Linked DNA regions of Homo sapiens: region 1 is linked to region 2. Evidence: promoter capture Hi-C in human tissues and cell types (Jung and others, 2019). All regions are on one chromosome and are shown on one strand. The core of a region is centred on a gene start or on the middle of the fragment in contact, and the rest is flanking DNA. Distances in the headings are between cores, read along the strand shown. Region 1 holds the start of ZFHX2 (zinc finger homeobox 2). Region 2 has its middle 12 kb from the start of CARMIL3.

Evidence for each region. Contacts are between HindIII fragments. The study calls those that stand out against the background at their distance.
Region 1: the fragment with the promoter of ZFHX2 here is called in contact with a fragment that was not itself captured in region 2 in 2 of the 25 tissues and cell types used here (bladder and dorsolateral prefrontal cortex).

The regions. Positions count from the first base shown.
Region 1 is chr14:23,547,007-23,554,115 of GRCh38, forward strand. It overlaps ZFHX2 (zinc finger homeobox 2), which reads right to left and starts at 4,759. Exons shown (of 10, transcript NM_033400.3): 1 at 4,337-4,759. It also overlaps a transcript of THTPA not described here. RefSeq lists enhancers at 804-1,427, 3,551-4,213, 5,063-5,112 and a silencer at 4,693-4,932. The HindIII fragment of the contact is 20,255 bases long and covers 1-7,109 here.
Region 2 is chr14:24,037,436-24,043,151 of GRCh38, forward strand. It overlaps the pseudogene DHRS4L1. Among named protein-coding and RNA genes, the nearest start is that of CARMIL3, 12 kb to the right of the region's middle. The HindIII fragment of the contact is 6,357 bases long and covers 299-5,716 here.

The DNA.
Region 1 (7,109 bases), core at 3,509-6,008, 490 kb before region 2:
ACCTCGTGATTCCTGATTGGGTGCATGTTTGTTTTCTATAGCTTCTGTGTATTTAGACCTCCTCTTTCTGCAGATTTTGCTCTGAGAGTTGTGGTGAGTTTTACATCTCTTGCCTCCCCCTCTTCTAGATACCTCTGGAGTCTTTCAACAATGGAGAGTCAGATGTCAAGGCCATCCCTCACAGGGTTCTTTACATCAAGATCTGGGCAGCAGTAACTTCTCCCTCCTTTGGCCTTTTGGCCCACATGGCCAATGCTGCCTTCGTTGTATTAATAATTACCTGGCTTGGGATAGGTGTTTAGAATGGGTCTGGTATTGATTTATGAACTCCTTATTTGCGGCCATTGTATATATACGGTTATGACCAATTCAATTGTAGTTTCATGATTGGGAATGGGGTGGGGATGCTACTTTTAATTCACATTTGCCAACTCTCTCTTTGGAAACAACTCTCAACCTTTTCTGGAAACCGCCTCCTTTCTCTTCCCTCCTCCACATCTTCCTCTTGGGCTCCTAGGGCTGTTCATTCATGTTTTCCTCCAATTATCACTACAAAGACTCTGCACATGAGCCCTGAGAGTTCCCCTGGCTGCCTCCAAGTGTGACCCTAACCCAGTCTCTCCTGTCTGCCTCAGATCTCACTGTCACTGGTTAACTACCCTCCAGCCATTCCCTCCGGTTTCTGATTTCCCAGTTTGCCCATTAATGTAGACTTAGGTGGGGGGAGTGGGTGAAAATTAGGTGGGCAACTCTTTCCCCCAGCCTCTCCCTACTAATTCAACGTTTGATCAGTAGATATTTATTAAGCCTTTTCTGTGTGACAGACACTGTGCTAGGTGCTGGAAAACAATTGGAAACTAGACAGATGTAGCCACTCCTCAGATGACCATGTGACTAACCCTGAGTCTCTCACCAGACAGCTAAGTCTCTCAGACTAGGGGACTCTGTCCCATTTCCCCCCTTTCTGTACAGCCAAATTCCACTGTGCCCTCTGGCATTTCACAACCCTTCCCTTTTCTCAATCCCTGAATGAGTTTACACTCACACAGCCCCGATCCCTTCCCTCTGCATTCTAGCTTTAGTCTCCATTCCTAAACCCAAAGCCATTACACTTTCAACAACTCTCCTCCCCACTCACAAAGCCCTTCTCCTTTCACATTCTGTAACTGCCATTTCTAGTCCTCCTCTTCCGTCTCTGCCTGCCTTTTGATCCAACCATCCTGACCTCAATGCCCTGTCTTAGGTTCCTTCCTCTTGCTACTGTCAGGCTCTAGCAAACCTCAGGTGCTCACAAACAGGAGTTATTTGTGACAACTGTTGTTCTGAGCTGGGAAGAGCTCCAGGGAGGCAAGGTCAAGCTACCAGAGTCAGAAATCCTACCAATTCGACCCAGGCCCTGGCCCGTAGGTGATACAGCACCCCGGCAAAGCAGCAAGTGATTCCTGTATGGGTCTCAAGGTAACACCAGCTGCCTCTGACATCATGGAGGGAGGAACCCTGTCAGGTTGCCAAGGCAATACCAGCAATTTATGACATCAGAGGCTTGAGGTCTTTGGTTCTCAGGGGCTGGGAAGATTCAAGTTCCTCTCAGCTGAAGTTTATGGGAATTCTACTTTTTCATCTCTTTGCTTGTGTTCTGGCTTGGGAATGAAATACAAAGGCCTTTCGTGGGGGTAGTGAGTGATTAGGCCAATGAAATGAATGCTCGTGAGGTTCTCTCTCTCTCTGTCTCTTCCCTGGATATTTCTGCTTTCTCTCCCTCTCTTGGGCATTTCTCTCTTCTGGGGCTTCGCCCAGTGGTATTCCTGCTATTTGTGCTATGCTTTTTTTCCAACCCCCCGGCGCCCCCGCAGTGCTCTCGCTCTCTTCGCATCAGTCACGCTGTGTCCTCCTCACACCAGAGGCATTTGTTTCCTTTGATACCTCATCCTCTCCTCTTTTCCTCCTACCAAGCTCTGTGCAGCTCTGATCTGCCTCAGCACTCCTTCGTTTGCCATCCATTTACCTTCTTTGTACCATACTCTCTTCCCATCTCATCTTGTTCAGCAATTCCTCCCTTCCCCCTCTTTACTACTGTATTAATTTCATAGTGCTTTTTCTGTTGACCTCCACTTTAGGAATATTCTATCATTTCTCTTCCTTTTACCTTCTGTATTGCTATCAACACGTTTTGTTTCATTCTTCCAATTTCTTATTAATCACCCCTTGGTTCCTCCCCTGCCCCCGAGTCCGCATAGATTTTCCTCCCTTCCTTTGCACATCCCTCACGTCATACATTTCTCTACCCCATGTGTTTATTGCACCGACCACCCCTTTCTTTCTTTAATTCTGTTCACCTCTGAAATCGTCCATCTTCTGCCCATGTCTGCCTGCTCCTTTTACCTTTCCAAGCTCCTGAGGTTTGGAAAAACAATGATGGGCTAAAAACTAAGGTAAACTCTCCAGATCCTTTATCCACCCTTACTGTTCTTCAGGCTAAATGAACTTGGCTCCTTACATACGATAGCTTTTATTACACTAATAAACACTGCCTCATTAAAAAAAAATGGTGCTGGATCTAAATATGATAGTAGCAGGGGCCTAGGAAGAAGATGAACTAAAAAGTGAAGAAAAAGCAACTGATATCTAGAATGAACTGAAGGATGGGGGGCAACCAGGCAGGGTGGAGCTTAGAGTCCTAGGGAATGTCCCCTTACAAAATCAAAGTTGACAGTTAACTGACATAATGGCACTGACTGATGGAGGGGTTATATGCCCCTGGAAGCTCATTAAATTTATTTCTTGGCCTGTTTATGTGCCTTCACAAACCATACCCCACACCTCTCCCAGCCCTTTGCTTGCTGGTACTTTCTGCTGCTGGGGTTAAAATGCTGGATAAGAGGAAAAGGGATAAAAGAAACTAGAAACTTAGGGTGATCAAGAAGAAAAGGTAGGAAGAGGGCAGATTATGGGAACAAAGGTGGAAACTCAGAGCTCATGGGAAACAGATGGAAAAAAGGGGTGAAGCAAAATGGGGAAATAAAAAATATACAATGATACAGTGGGGGAAGGGAGTAAAATTAAGTCAGCAGGGAAGAGGTTTTGTTGTGCGAAGCTCCTGGAAAGGCAGATGACACGCATGAGACCAGAAGGTGAGGTTCTGATGAGGGAGACAGGCACATGGCAAAGGGGACAGTCAACAATGCTAGGAAGTTCCAAAGCTTCTCTGGTGATGGTGGAAGAGGAGGCTGTCCTGGCCATGCTGAAGGCACTAGAGGCTTTGGCGAAGACACATTTGCTCCATCATCCCACTCCTCCAGGCCCTGACTGTGACCACCACAATCATGACTGATAAGCAAATTCCAAAGTAGCCTGAAAAGGCCAGAGATATCCAGACAGACTCTGAAGGAGAGGGCATGGAATCCTAGACCGACAGAACAGGCAGCCAAGGCGTGACACATAGTGATAGAGACACACAAGGAGAGGATCACTCAGATGGGAAGGGTCACAAGTGGAGACAGTGACATACAGATCCAGAGATGGATGGGATGGAAGAGACAAGATGAAGAACAGCAAAACCAAAAGTCAGGGACACATGGACAGAGATCAGCGGGGCTACAGGCACAGCGAGGAAGCGTGGTCCTGTGCTTGAAAATGATAGGGCTGCTCAGAGGGGCAGACGAGCGGATGGGGGTGGTAGGATGGGCGTGCAGGACAGACACGCTTCACCTTGAATGGGCTTATGGCCTCCCCTCACCTACTCAACACTTTCAAAAAAAGGAATGGAAAGCCCAACTTCAGCCAAAAACGAACGAAGACTGAGAGTATCCACGTCCCCTCCCACTCCACGCCCCAGCGCGCTAGCCCATCCATCAGCCCGCCGGCCGCGGTTCTCCCATCCCACAGCCGGCGGGGGGCCGCCGAGACCCAGGACCCTCCAGGCTGACAGCTCTGAGCCCTCACACTCACCGGGCCTCCCCTTCCCCCCGGGATCCCCGCTCCCTGCCCAACTCGGCGCGGTCCGTCTAGGCTTTCCATACCCTTCGTCTGTCCGGCGGGCCTCTGCCTTTCCCGTTCCCGTTTCTCCCTCCACCCCCGCATCTCTCTTCCCCCATCCTCGCGCACGCCCTCTTCCTCCCACACCCCTGTCTGCTATCTCCCAGGGCTCTCGGTCTGTCTGTCCGTCCGTCCTTGTCCCCTCCCCCAGCCCCTTCCCGTCCCTCTCCGTCCCCTCCAGCGGCAGTCTCCAAGCGCCTCCTCTCCCGTCTCGAGCTTCCAAAGAGCAAGGAAGGGAAGAAGAGAGAGAGGGAGAGGAGAAAAAAACCAACCCAGCAGCATCGGAAATCGATGCACTTACACCTCAGCTGGAAGCAGGGACGGGAGTCGAACCGCGGCCACCGAGCAGCGCGAGGCGGGGAGGGGAGGGGGCGGCTCTTGGAAGGGACTTCTCCGATGTGTTGATTCCTCTTTTTTCCCCTCCTCCTCCCTCCCTCCAGCGCTCGCTCCGGGGCGTCAGGGACGGAGACGGAAAAAAATAAATAAATAAATTCACGGCGGTGAGGGAAGTGAAGGAAAATAATCAATGCTATTTGGCTGCGGCTGAAGTGTTTCCCCGGCTTCGTGAGGGGGTTTCCATTGATTCACCCTGGGCACTCGCTCGCTCCCTGCCTCCTCCTCCTCCTCCTCCTTCTCCTCCTCGCCCTCCTCCTCCTCCTCCTCCTCGCCCTCACTCCTCCGCCTCATTCACTGGCTGGAGTCTAGGCGTCCCACACAATGGAATAATCAATACCCAGGCGCCCGGGGCTGCCCCACTGAGCAGGTGCAGCGACCCGCCCGCCGCGGCGCATGCCGGGAGTTGTAGTCTGTTCGCGCCCGCCCGCCTGCCTCGCGGGACCCAGGGCCGGGGGCAGGCCGGCCAGCCCACCAGGTCGCCTCCAGGTTCAAGCCGGTGCCTGCAAAGAGGGCAGGCCCCTTTAAACTCTTTTCCGTCTCCTCTCCTCTTCATCCTGTGGCCTGCAGAAACCATACATGTGTTTTGTTGTTTTGTTTTAAATCAGCTTCAGAACAAGCCCTGAGCCGCCCAAGGCCTCCTTTTTTCATTCTCTTCTTCCTGCCTTATTATTCCGCCTCCCCCATCTCCCCCCGCGAAATTGGGTACTAGAACCTTCTCTACCGCAGCAATTACTCTTTAGTCTCTGAGAGCTTCTGCCTCCTCCACACGGTTACATAGTCCCCTGAGCTGGGTTGGGGGAGGTTCGGGCTCCTCCTCATCTTCAGTTTATCGCTTATTAAGTGCTCCTGAATTTTTTTTTTTTTTTTTTTTCTGGAGACGGAGTCTCACTCAGTCGCCCAGGTTGGAGTGCAGTGGTGCGATCTCGGCTCACTGCAACCTCCACCACCGGGTTCAAGCGATTCTCCTACCTCAGCCTCCTAAGTAGCTGGGATTACAGGCATGCATCAACACACCCAGCTAATTTTTGTATTTTTAGTAGAGACGGGGTTTCACCACGTTGGTCAAGCTGGTCTCGAACTCCTGACCTTGTGATCCGCCTGCCTCGGCCTCCCAAAGTGCTGGGATTACAGGTGTGAACCACCACCGCGCCCAGCCCGTTTTTTTGTTTGTTTGTTTTTTTCTTGAGACAGAGTCACTCTGTCGCCCAGGCTGCAGTGCAGTGGCATGATCCCGGCTCACTGCAACCTTCACCTCCCAGGTTCAAGTGATTCTCCTGCCTCAGCCTCCCAAGTAGCTGGGATTGTAGGTGCCCACCACCATGCCCTGCTAATTTTGTATTTTTAGTAGAGACGGGGGTTTCACCATCTTAGCCAGGCTGGTCTCGAACTCCTGACCTCAGGTGATCCACCGGCCTCAGCCTCCCAAAGTCCTGGGATTATAGGGGTGATCCACCTCACCCGGCCGCTCCTGTATTCTAATAATAATTTTTAAGATTTCTTGAATGCACAGGGACAGTTCCAAGCACTTTTACATACATTGTTTACTCCTCTCAATACCTCAAGCATGAGGTAGATGCTATTATAGTCTCATTTATTGAGGAAACTAAGGCACAAACAAGTGAATTAACAGGCCCAAGGTCCAATGGCCAATAAGTAAGTGACAGTGCCAGGACTCAAAAACCTCCATGGTCTGGCTCCAGGGCCCATACTAACTGCTATAGCCTACTTCTCTTAAACAACACAACAAAACCCTGAAGTTCACATGACAAAAAGGAGAGATAAATGAACATTTTGAGTTTATACTATGTGACAGTTTATGACTGAATCCTCACAGGTAACTGTGAGGCAGGCCACATTTTCTCAATGAAAAAGCAGAGGCTGGCCGGGCATGGTGGCTCACTCCTGTAATCCCAGCACTTTGGGAGGCTGAGGTGGGTAGATCACCTGAGGTCAGGAGTTCGAGACCAGCCTGACCAACATGGTGAAACCCTGTCTCTACTAAAAATACAAAATTAGCTGGGCGTGGTGGTGGGCACCTGTAATCCCAGCTACTCGGGAGGCTGAGGCAGAAGAATCGCTTGAACCCGGGGGGCAGAGGTTGCGGTGAGCCAAGATCACACCATTGCACTCCAGCCTGGGCAACAAGAGTGAAACTCCGTCTCAAAACCAAAAACAGGCCGGGCGTGGTGGCTCACACCTGTAATCCCAGCACTTTGGGAGGTGGAGGCGGGTGGATCACAAGATCAGGAGATCGAGACCATCCTGACTAACAGGGTAAAACCCCATCTCTACTAAAATTACAAAAAATTAGCCGGGCATGGTGGTGGGCACCTGTAGTCCCATCTACTTGGGAGGCTGAGGCAGGAGAATGGCATGAACCCTGGAGGCGGAGCTTGCAGTGAGCCGAGATGGCGCCACTACACTCCAGCCTGGGCGACAAAGCGAGACTCCGTCTCAAACAAACAAACAAACAAAAATTAGGAGGGTGGGGTGGCACGTGCCTGTAGTCCCAACTACTCAGGAGGCTGAGGCGGGAGAATCATTTGAACCCAGGAGGCAGAGGTTGCAGTGAGCTGAGACGCCAGAGTGAGACTCTGTCTCAAAAAAAAAAAAAAAAAAAAAAAAAAAGCAGATGCTTAGGAAAGTGGAGTAGCTTGCGGAAGGCCAAACATCTAGAA
Region 2 (5,716 bases), core at 2,227-4,726:
CTGCAAACCCAGCTCATTTCTCACCTCTCAGTCCCAAGAGGGGATGAAGCCTGTCACCCATGGTGGGAACTGTAGAAAGTGATGTCAGTTCTTGGGAACTGAGGCTGCAGTCCAAGATGATAATAAAAATAAGTAAAGGAACGCCAAAAATGGCTGTGCCATTAAGCCTGTTTTACACGTAGTAGAGACACATGGAGGTCATATAGAGAAAGAGCCAGAATTCAAAACCGGGCAGTCTAACTTCAGAGCCCATGCTGTCCATCTCTTCCCCTGCACAAGCCTTAGCAGTCTTTGTCTCTGCTCACAGGATCGGCTTCGCCGTCGCCCAGCGTCTGGCCCAAGACGGGGCCCACGTGGTAGTCAGCCGCCGGAAGCAGCAGAATGTGGACCAGGCAGTGGCCACGCTGCAGGGGGAGGGGCTGAGCATGACGGGCACTGTGTGCCATGTGGGGAAGATGAAGGACTGGGAGCGGCTGGTGGCCACAGTGAGCTGCAGGGAAATGGGCACAGAGCCAGGAGGTGGAAAAGGGAGCCAGCCTGAGCCTCCTTCCCTGCTTTCCTGGACAGCATTGGTGAGATCCAACGCAGTGATGTTAACTAAAACATAACAGTGTGTTCTGCATACCCAACCAGCCCACCAGCACGTTTTTATTGTGTGCCTTTCTATTATGTCCATATATTAAAGTTGGAGAATAATCCCATCCCAATCAGAGAATGTTAAAACATTCTAATGCTTCAACCCTGCATCATCCCTTGCATACCCCAAAGAAACCGCTGGTACTGGTTCTCCAGTAATTTTCAACCTAACTGGACAGATGAGAAGGGTAAATACAATCACAAAATAGATGTTCCCACCCATGAGCTAATAAACATTCCCCTCTTCTTCAGCTTACAGAGTCAAGTCCCTGGGAACTTCAGGAAGCAGCCCACCATGTTTCAACCACTTACTATGTGCCATTTCCTGTGTTCAGAGCCTTACACAGGTTATCTCTAGACCTGACAACAACCCAAGCAAGGCAAGGACTATTCTCTCGGTCTGCAGACGCTGGCTCAGATAGCTGGAGCAACTTCCCAAGGTCCCACAGCCAGTAAGGAAAGACCCAGACCTCCCAAGCTCCCTTCCTTTATTGGCTGCCTGTGGACTACCAGGTACTGGACTTTAGTCTCAAAGAAAGTATATAAGTCAGTGTCACAGTTAGTAGTGGATACCAGCCTTCCAGCTGCCGAAGGAAATATGAACCATCCAGCAAAGCAAGCTCCTCTTCCCTTGAGGCTCAGGATACACACTTTATTTTCCAGAGTGGAAGGGAGAATCTACCCAAAAATGGAAAGTACAGGGTTGTGCTAACAGATTGGAAGGTTGGCAGAAATAATTTGCATAATCTTAGAAGAGGAGGATCTTAAGCAATAGTAGACAGTAGCATGGTAGACAGTATAGGGTAATTCCGTTTTTAAGGAACTGTCTGGCAAATGCTCAAATGTGCATTGGAAAGAGCCAAATGTGAGTCCTAGAAAGTCACCTTGCCTGGCCTAGGCTGGTGGACAGAGCCCAAGATTGGGGCCTTGATCCTGATGGTGGAAGGAGCCGTTTGGGAGTCTGGGTCAATTAGTGACTAACCATATCACATGTAAGTAGCAATGTAATGTGAAAACCCTGTTGGGAAAACATCCTGTGGCCCCCACCAGGTTCACTTAACATGGCCTACAGGCCTGGCCCAGAGGTGGTACTTGAGCTAAACCTTAAGGAATGGATGGGAATGGACAGATGGAATAGTGACGAGGTTCCAGATAACTCTGCAAAATGAGCAGACAGCCAAGGAGGAACTGAAGGAAAGAGAGGAGCACTGTCAGGCCACAATGGAGAGCACAGGCTCAGGAGTACTGCTGGGGAAGGGGCTGCATTGGAAAGATAGAGGCCATGGGCCTCCATATCTTTTTTTTTTTTTTTTTTTTTTTTTTTTTTTTTTTTTTGTGACGGAGTTTCACTCTTGTCGCCTAGGCTGGAGTACAGTGGCACCATCTCGGCTTACTGCAACCTCTGCCTCCCAGGTTCAAGCAATTCTCCTGCCTCAGCCTCCTGAGTAGCTGGGATTACAGGTGCCCACCACCATGCCCAGCTAATTTTTGTATTTTTAGTAGAGACGGGGTTTCACCATGTTGGCCAGGCTGGTCTTGAACTCCTGACCTCAGGTGATCCACCCACTCAGCCTCCCAAAGTGCTGGGATTACAGGCGTGAGCCACTGCGCCCGGCCATAGCTTCTTAAAAGGATACGTTAAGGACCTTAAAAGGATATAGCCTCTTAAAAGGATATGTTTACACACTCTTGTAGCAAATAAGAAGCCATGTGAGGTTTTGAGCAAGAGAAAGATGGTTATTAGGAAAGCTAATCTGGCTCTGGTAGGAAGGATATACAGAGGAGACACCAAATCCAGGGCATCAGTGAGGAAGCTGTTGCTGTCGTCCAGGTTTAGAGCAGTGGCGGTGGGACTGGAATAGATGTGCCCAAGAGACATTCAGTGGAAACGAACCAAGATTTTCCAACCCCATGTCAAAAAGTGGGAAATAGAGAAGTCAAAAATGACTCTCAGGTAGTTTGTATGACCATTGTCAGAGAGGAGAATGATAGAATACTTGTCAGCAATTTGAAATGTCTTCTGCCAGTTGTCACATGTTACCCTGCAATGAGAAAAGCCACTGCCCTGAGAATGGATACTACCCAGTGGCCTCCTCATCTGCACACCACGAAGCTTCTCACTGGTGTTGTAAGTGGAAACCAGAGTAGCTGCCTATCTGCTTGATTATATTTTTTCTTAAAAATGTATAACTATCAGAACACAGAACAAACAGCTCCTAACCACTTTAGTGTAGTGATCACACAATTTAGAACACTTAGAAGACATCTTTTTCTTTTCCCCCCAGAGACAGGGCCTCACTCTGTTGCCCAGGCTGGAGTGCAGTGGCATGATCATAGCTCACTGTAACCTCCAACTCTTGAGCTCAAGCAGTCCTCCCCCGTCAGCCTCCCAAGTGGCTAAGATTATAGGCATGCACCACCACGCCAGTTCATCTTTTAAATTTGTTGTAGAGTTGGGGCTTTATTGCCCAGGCTGGTTTTGAACTCCTGGCCTCAAGCGGTCCTCCCTACTGGCCGTACCAAAGTGCTAGGATTATAGGTGTGAGCCACCACACCCAGCCTCATTCATCTTTTATGGTTTGCTGTCTCTGTTCATTCAAAACCCAGCCTCCTCCCATCTCTGTGCTGACAGACCTGGAAGTAGAGGGGCATGGGGTATGCAGCAGAGTAGAAAATGTCTCCAGGTGATTCTGGAGCAATCCACTGTCTTCTCCCAGCCCAAACACACGTGCACTGAGCACAGCACACATCACTTATTAACTTATTCTGCACCTCCCTAGTAACAAGTACATTGGTGAGACTTACACAGAGCCAAGGCAGGTGACTTGGCTTTGTGCCAGGATACCAAAATTTAAAGGGTGCAAGAAAGTATTCATACTGGTTTTAAAAGAGTACTTGACTTTAAATTTTGTTAGATTTACACGTTGACAGCCCAGGCATTTCTTCAACTGTGTTGAAGGTTAGCACCTAGTTAACAAGAATAATTAGTTAAAATGGGAAGCTAGCAGATGGTGTACATTGTTAATAACACCCCTCCGTGGGCCAAATCCGGAGCACAAAATTGACCAAGGGCCCATGTACTGCTACTTGCCCAAGGCATCAAAATTGCCAGTTCCAGGCAAATGCAAAGTCTGGTTTCAGGGTGGCTTTGTACTGAAAACCCTTGTTGGCAGATTCTGCTTGGCCATTCATTACTCTAGCACATGCCTCACTACCTACTTATAACTTATTAAGGAGGTGAGATGTTGCCTTTCTTGGCTTTCTCAGTTTAAATTTCCCTTTCTGCCTTGAATCTTTCATGCCTCCAGGTCAAAAGAGAGAGACAGAGACAGGGAAAATGACATCATAACCAAATATGGAATTGCTTTAAATTCAGGCTGGTATCTTCTCCCATCATGGCTCTCCTGGGCAGCCGGTTTCCTAATGACCCCAGCTCACTTTCAGAGGGCTCTTACGAATTAGCTCTGTGCTACAAAGTGGGAGACTGACCTCAGTTCTTCCACCACTAACTAGCTTTATGCCCTGAACAAATCACTTTCCCCAACACGGAATAAGCAGGCCTCCTGTTCTTAGCTAGCCCCAGTGTGTTACTACTGAACTATATGATCTTGAGAAAATTCCCTGAACCTGTTTCATCATCTCCACCTTAAGGACATTGGAATAGATGATCTCAAAGGCCCCTCCAGGGTAACTTTCTACAGCTCTATTTAAGCCAGTTTTTCCATTCAGGTAAGTGTGGCCAGATTGACTTTGAAATAATGGTAACTTATTCAAGAAGAACTGGACAGTAAGCACTTGGAGAAATGTGGGTGGAACTCAGTGTGAAAGGAAGAGGAGGGGTCTGGAAATAGATTTTGGGGTGAGATTTGAAATCACGAGAATGAAGGAGCTCCCAAATGGGAAAATGTAAAGAAAAGAGCATAGGGTCAGAGACAGCCTTAGAAGAATAGGAGGTGGGAAGAAAACACTGCAAAAGAAATAAGGCCAACTTCCTGGTGGCTCACACCTGTAACACTTTGAGAGGCCGAGGCAGGCGGATGGCTTTAGCTCAGGAGTTCCAGACCAGCCTGGGCAACATGGCAAGACCCTGTCTCTACAAAAAGTACAAAAATTGCCCAGGTGTGATGGCACGCACCTGTATTCTCAGCTACTTGGGGGGCTGAGGCAGGAGGATGGCTTGAACCCAGTAGGTCAAGGCTGCAGTGAGCTGGGATCATGCCACTGAACTCCAGCCTGGGTGACAGAGGAAGACTCCATCTAAAAAAAGAAAGAAGCCAACCTTAAATGGTTAGCAGCAGATCTTAGGGTAGTTTTCAAAAAAGATGTTTTAAGAAATAGAAGTTATTTTGACGATAGTTCCTAAGAAGGAAGATTTGTTGTTGTTGTTGTTGTCATTGTTGTTGTTTTTTTAAATATAGGGATAAGGTCTCCCTATGTTGCCCAGGCTTCTCTCAAACTGCTCAGTTCAAGTGGTCCTCCCACCGTGACCTCCCAAAGTGCCATGATTCCCGGCGTGAGCCACCACGCCCCGCCCAGAAGGAAGTTTTTATCAACGTGAATAAATGCACCTCCCTTACTTACTGCAGCCCTGGTCCAGACCTTACCCCTCTCCCTAGGCTATGAAGCTTCATGGAGTTATTGATATCCTATCACTATCGATAACAAACTCCGTCTGCTTTTAGAATGTGTTTATCAAGTGCAGTGTAAATGTGAGGAGTCTTTGCCACATGCCACACACCTGGAGCACACCTGGTAAAGGGCGGGTGGGGGCAGCTTCCTCTGTCCCTGCCCTTCTCATTCGTTTCTGCTGCTCCTACTTCTGTCTGCTTCCATCTGCCCTTCACTATCCACCGTCTGCTCCCCTCCCCAGCCTTCTTCCCGGCATGCTCTGCTACCTGGTTGATTTCCAACAGAGACGTGGCAGCTAATATGCCAACAACTATGACACTTAAACTTACACACCCAACTGTCCCCCTTTCAGCTGCCAAAAAGGAATCATTTTTCATTAGCTGGGAAATATTAAAAGCTGCTAGTTAAGTAAAATACTAATTCTGGTGAAATAACCAGTTGCCACTTTATA